2 separate regions of the Homo sapiens genome follow, and region 2 is linked to region 1. Evidence: promoter capture Hi-C in 16 types of primary human blood cells and fetal thymus (Javierre and others, 2016). All regions are on one chromosome and are shown on one strand. Each heading gives the region's core, a stretch centred on a gene start or on the middle of the fragment in contact. The rest is flanking DNA. Distances are from core to core; before and after follow the strand shown.

Region 1 (3,306 bases), core at 541-3,040:
CGATTCTGAATCTCTGCACCCTCTTTATTCCCATGTAAATGAGCACATTCTTAGTCTCCACACTATCTAAAATGATTGTAGGGGCAAAATGAGAGAGGGAAGCATTTAGGCAAAAACAAGGGGGTTATTTTATGCATAAACATCCATTCTTTGGGGCTCCCATCATTTGTGCCAGGGACAGAAGCATCCTTTCTCTTCCATCACCCGTAATCAGTGCTCCCAGCTGGCAGCCTGGCACTGGAGCCTTCATCTCAGTGCCAGTGCAATAAAGGAGTGGTCTGTGGGAGGCTGTTTCTGTATTAGGTATAACATTGTGCTAAGAAAAACAGCCAACTACTGATTTCATGTCCGTTTCCCTATGGGAAATTACTGGCCATGGAAGGAGAATATGGTTGGTTTTTCCTGGGCAGTCCCCGGAACTTAGAAAGCCATTTCTCCCCAGTCTTGACCTCCTGCCTGCTTACTCCTACCCATGGGTTGCACACAGACTCCCCTGTAGCCCAGTGCTTGTTACCAGTTGCTGGCCAGCAACAGCCCAGGGGGATGGCAACACCCACCTAGCCGTCTGCCAAGCCAGGAGGTCAGCACATGAGCACACAGTGGTGTCTGCCCTCTAGGCCAAGGTGCACAGTGTTAGGAGCCTCTTGCTCCACTCTCCAGATCAGCCTGGAAACCAGAGCTTCCCTCGTCTTAGACAAACAGATGGCCGTGGGCGATGCAGAGCCCTGAACTGCTGAGGGTGCTCCTTCCATTCTCGCCCTTCCCCAAAAAACATACACCAAACTTACCCCCAATCACAGCATCTGAGACCACAAAGCCCCACGGACACAGCTGCCCCGGGTACTGCCTGCCTTCCCCTTTTCTGGCCTCTGCAAACTAGCCATTCACCTGATGAAGCCCCTGGGGCAGTACCTTGGAAACCCCTGAGAGGAGGAGTTGAAGGAGGCTCAAAGCCTTTCAAGGACAGTGTGCACTCTGCCTGCCTCCTATTCTCTCCTGTCCTCTTAAGCCCAGAGTCTACAACAAAATTGTGTACCGCAATTCTCAGAGCTCTCTAACTTTAACCTTTCCCACCTTCCCTAGAACACATTTTTGGGTGGGGATCATCTGAGAGGCCCATGGATGAGTCCCCAAGATGACCTCTGTGGGTGACCAAGACAATCTTGTCTTTTGAGGCACCTGGAGTCTCTCATCCTTTTTTGAGCTGGGCTGTCCTCAAAGCAGGCCCTTACCTCTTATGTGGCCTCATCTTTAGAGGTGGGAAGTGGGCCCACATCCCCCACCCCAGCCCTGCAGTGGAGCTAGCGTGGGCCTGCTGGAGGACAGAACTGTGGAACAGGGTCCTGTGAGGATATGTGGCAGGGTTGGCGGGGGGATAGGGGGTCATGGAGGAGCCTACCTCTGAAAAGCATTCCCCTAGCTGCTACTGAAGCTAAATACAATTTATTTCATGCTGGGGGACAGAAAGGAGCAAGGGAGAGCAGTCACCTGCTCCTTATCTGGGCTATTTTCTTAGCAGACCTCAAAATGAGACCATGGTGGGAAGCTGGGCTGGGGCCAAGGGAAGAAGCTTGCCAGCACTGTCAGCCGATGAGCCCAGGAGAAAAAGCTGGGCCTAGTCTCTGCCCCATTCCTGTTCCACACCTGTCTGTACCCCTGTCTCTCCTTTCCCTGGCTCTGCCAGACTCTCTATCTCCCTGGGCGCCAGCCTCCCCACCCACCCCTGGAGGGCGGGGCTTGGCTGCACCCACGTGTGGTGGAGTTAAATGCTCCTAGCCGGCAGAGGAGCTAGGGAGTGTGGCACTGAGCCGGCTCAGGCAGAGACGCGGCACCATGGCTAGCAAGAAAGTCTGCATTGTAGGCTCCGGGAACTGGTAAGCAGCTCTGTCAAGTGATATGGGGGAAGGGTAGGCCCCCCAAGACAGAGGTGGGTAGGAGGCAGAATGGGTGGGAAAGGCCCTCAGGTTCCTGTTCAGCCCCTGCTGCTATCTTCTATCATAGCAGCACAGGACAGACGGTGCCCGGCCCTCTCCTGACCCCCGCCCTCCTGGGCAGCTGCACCTGTTCACCATGGGAAGGCGTCTCCAGAGCTCTCTATGTGAAGAGCCGCTTGAGTTTGGGGGTGGGAAGATGAGAAGTGGGGCTCCCTTCTCTAGTAGCAAAGGGTGAGGAGACTGAGTCTCCTTTCTACTGCCAGGTCACTGGGGACTATTTGTCATGGGAGTGGAGGTGATAAGGAAGGTAGGTAGGAGTGAACAGCCTGGGGGGCTGCTGTGAGATCCTGAGGTGGGGCGCTGCCCCAACTCCTGCCACTGTTCCCTCCTCCTGTACTTTCCTGTGCTCCCCCTCCCACCAGGGGCTCAGCCATCGCCAAGATCGTGGGTGGCAATGCAGCCCAGCTGGCACAGTTTGACCCACGGGTGACCATGTGGGTATTTGAGGAAGACATTGGAGGCAAAAAGCTGACTGAGATCATCAACACGCAGCATGAGAATGTCAAATACCTGCCAGGGCACAAGTTGCCCCCAAATGTGGTGAGCCCCAACACCCTGCGAAGAACAGGGAGAGGAAGGGAGGGCCAGGAGTTGGAGCCGACCTTACTCAACAGGTGCCTCCTGCTGAGAGGGCCGCTTCAGGTGCAGCAGGACTTGGGAAGGTCTCAGGAGGGCTGCTCTGGGCCCTTTCCTGAGGACTGAGGAGAACCTATGCTTTCCCCTCACAGGCTCCCAGGCGGGTGGGTGGGGAAGGGATGGGAGAACAAGTTGGTCTCCATGGCAGCCAAAGACTGGGCTCCCAGACTTGGGGTCCAGTAGTGCCTGCCTCCGGCACTAATCCTGTTACTCATTCACTGAGTGAGTAGCCGACTTGGAGGCTGCTCCTTGGACTTACGGTCTTTGGTCAAATCCACGTGGCTCTCCCCACCTGGAAAGGGGAAGCAGGGAAGAGAGCAGAAAGGCTGGGGCTCCCCCTTCCCAGCTGGGGTTCCTGAGGAGCTGGGTGATGAAATCTTATTTGAGCTCTTTCTTTTGCCAAGCCCAGGCTGCTTTTGGCCTCCCGCACTGTCCCACAGCCAAGGGATAGGAGAGTGCTGGGATGAGGTTTCCAGGAGTCCTCAAGAGCCCAGGACAGCTGGAGGGAGACAGAGTGGTAGCTGGGGGGAGGGAGTAGAGTGTCTTATTCCTCCAAGTTCAGTCCTTCTAGATTCAGTCCCAAACAAGCCTTCCTGCTCCCCTACCAGCCTCACTCTTTGGCTCCCAGATCTCCTGAATAGGGTTCCACAGGGGCTAGGGGAGGTCTGCCAGGCCC
Region 2 (3,306 bases), core at 259-2,758, 330 kb after region 1:
CATATCAGGTATTACTCATGAATAATCAAATCTTAGATGTTATATCCATTAATTTGATTTACTTCTGACAAGGTACAGTTTCTTTAGCTAAGAGTTGAATCACTGTTTAAGAATAGACCTGCTAAATTTCAGAGTTCATTTAGGCTACAGCTTTTTAGTTTTGCAAAAATTATGTTTATAGTTGTCTTATTTTCAGATTCTTAAGGAATATCTTTTTTTTTTTTTTTTGAGATGGAGTTCTCACTCTATTGCGTAGGCTGGAGTGCAGTGGCACGATCTCGGCTCACTGCAACCTCTACCTCCCGGGTTCAAGCGATTCTTCTGATTCAGCCTCCCAAGTAGCTGGGAGTACGGGCACGCACAACCGTGCCTGGCTAAGTTTTGTGTTTTTAGTAGAGACGAGGTTTTATCATGTTGGCTAGGCTAATCTCAAACTCCTGATATCAGGTGATCCACCCACCTTTGCCTCCCAAAGTGCTGGGTTTACAGGTGTGAGCCACCATGCCTGGCCTCTATTTTAATAGAATGTAAAAGTAAGGGCCTTTGAGCCTGCTCCTTGCCAGGCACTAGGCAGTTGAAATACATTATTGATTGAACAGCAGCGATCCTTCATGGAACCTATATTCTGACTGTGAGAACACAAAACAAACATAATAAATAAGGAGTATGTTAGGAGATAAGTGCTATGGGAAAAAAATTAAATGCAAGGACAGGAATCAGGAATGCTGGGGTGGTTGCAGTTTTAAATAGGGTGATCAGAACAGTACTCTTTGAGAAGGGGCCTTATAAGCAAAAACTTCCAGCTATTTATAGCCAGACTGCTTCAAAGAATATTTGATGTGAATAGCAAGGTGTGAATTTGATTTTACCTAAGTTTATTAAACAAGATTTTATGTGTAAGATGCAAGTGTTTGCATCTTCTTTTTTTAATGTACCTTAAAGAATCTTTTGTGTTAATATTAAATATATATTTTTTATTTTTCTTTTTTTTTTTTTGTTTATGTTTTGAGATGGAGTTTCGCCCTTGTTGCCCCAACTGGAGTGCAGTGGCGTGATCTCGGCTCATTGCAATCTCCGCCTCCCAGGTTCAAGCGATTCTCTTGCCTCAGCACCCCGAGTAGCACCCACCACCAAGCCTGGCTAATTTTTTGTATTTTTAGTAGAGACGGGGTTTCACCATGTTGGCCAGGTTGGTCTTGAGCTCTTGACCTCTAATGATCCACCCGCCTCGGCGTCCCAAAGTGCTAGGATTACAGGCATGAGCCACCGCACCCAGCCAATGTGTGTATTTATATAAGCATGTTTGACTTAAATAATTTAAAACACGTATTTTGGACAGGGTGCGCTGGCTCACGCCTGTAATCCCAGCACTTTGGGAGGCTGAGGCGGATGGATCACGAGGTCAGGAGATCGAGACCATCCTGGCTAACACGGTGAAACCCCGTCTGTACTAAAAAATACAAAAAAAAATTAGCCGAGCGTGATGGCGGGCGCCTGTAGTCCCAGCTACTCGGGAGGCTGAGGCAGGAGAATTACTTGAACCCGGAAGGCAGAGCTTGCAGTGAGTCGAGTTTGCGCCACTGCGCTCCAGACTGGGCAACAGAGCAAGACTCTGTCTCAGGAAAAAAAGAAACAGAAATGGAAAATCCTTCTTGAGTCAGTTCACAGTTCAGCTACAGTTTTTATCATGCATATTCTAATATCACTGATGAAGTATTTATAAGATGGAACTCTGCTATATGTAATGTTTTGTTAAAGTGCTACTTGTAATATTAAACCTCTTTATGTATCAGTATAATTGTCCAATGTTGTGCTAGATGTGTTTGGGAATTGAGATACTGTAAAAGTTATATTAACTAATGTTTATGTATATATTACATTAGTATCTTTTGAATTGAACTTTTAACAACTTTTTAGAGTTCACTGAAAAGTTTAATGTTATTTCTGATAGAATAATCTTATTTCCATGCATTTAAAAAGTAGGAAAAGTGAGTAAGATACCTCTTGTTAGATGCTTTTTAATAATTGCTTGTTTTATAGGACTATTTTGTTTTTTCAGAGAAAATTTGTCAAAGGATCTTTACTTGATATCTCAAATGGATAGTGATCAGTTCATCCCAATTTGGACAGTTGCCAACATGGAAGAAATAAAAAAGTTGACTACAGACCCTGATCTAATTCTTGAAGTGTTAAGATGTATGTAAAAATACCTTTTAGCTTTTTTTTTAATTTTTAAACGTAAAATGTTATTTCGACTTCTGATCATATAGGGAATTATTTTTACTGCCCCCTCCCCACACCCTTATTTTGTTGTTTTGTTCCGAATTCTCTCTCTTTGTTTTTTTTTTTCGGGGGTTGTGGTGAAAGACAGGGTCTCACTCTGTCACTCAAGCGGGAGTGTGATGGTGCAAATCACAGCTCACTGCAGCCCCAAACTCCTGGGCTCAAGCCATCCTTCTACCTCGTAGCCTCCCAAGTTACTGGGACCCCAGGCGCACACCACCACATCTGGCTAATCTTTAAATTTTTGTATAGAGGTGGGGTCTTGGTATGTTCCCCAGGCTGGTCTTTGTTCTTTGGCTGAGTCAGTCCTCCCACCTTGGCTTCCCATTTTTACTGACTCTGTGTGTGTGTGTGTGTGTGTGTGTGTGTGTGTGTGTGTGTATCCCGCTGGTGTGTGTGTGTGTGTGTGATATGTGTGTGTGTGTGTGTATATATCCCGCTGGGGTGTGTGTGTGTGTGTATGTATATATATATATATATATATCCCGCTACTGACTGGTGTGTGGGGGTGTGTGTGTGTGTATATGTGTGTATGTATATATATATATATCCTGCTCAGCCTCCCAAAATGTTGGAATTACAGGCGTGAGCCACCACCCCCGGCCTATATACAGCTTCTGTAATAATTCTGCACCTTGGTTGTTTATCATCATGCCCACTTAAGAAGTATAAGCAATTAAGTCTCATTTTTCTGGAGTGTTAGATATGTATCGTTATCACACAACCTTTAAGACAATCTCTTTCAAGTTTTTAAACCCAAATAAGAAGTACATTTTTCGTGACAGTTCAATATACACCATATACCTACACCTGACCGAAATATTTGTAACAAACTTGTTTCTAATTTTACAACCTACTAATGAGTTGCTGTGGGCAGTTTGACAAATACTGCTCTGAAGTTTGGTAATGAATTTTTATTTCTTGATTGAAGCTTTAAGAATTTTTGCTGGATTTTGTGTCTTGTATCAGTATTTCTTGGTAACCTCTTAAGAGTGGGTTTTGTTAACTATTTGACTGAATAAG

Evidence for each region. The method cuts DNA at HindIII sites, captures the fragments that hold promoters and counts their contacts. A CHiCAGO score of 5 or more calls a contact.
Region 2: a contact is called between a fragment that was not itself captured here and the fragment with the promoter of GPD1 in region 1, in 1 of 17 cell types (endothelial precursors). The highest score is 5.2, in endothelial precursors.

Annotation. Positions count from the first base shown.
Region 1 is chr12:50,102,218-50,105,523 of GRCh38, forward strand. GPD1 (glycerol-3-phosphate dehydrogenase 1) reads left to right here and starts at 1,791. Exons shown (of 8, transcript NM_005276.4): 1 at 1,791-1,874; 2 at 2,357-2,534. The coding sequence starts at 1,834. RefSeq lists an enhancer at 801-850. The HindIII fragment of the contact is 4,893 bases long and covers 1,569-3,306 here.
Region 2 is chr12:50,433,429-50,436,734 of GRCh38, forward strand. It overlaps LARP4 (La ribonucleoprotein 4), which reads left to right. Exons shown (of 16, transcript NM_052879.5): 5 at 2,060-2,196. Among named protein-coding and RNA genes, the nearest start is that of SNORD133, 21 kb to the right of the region's middle. The HindIII fragment of the contact is 3,407 bases long and covers 1-3,212 here.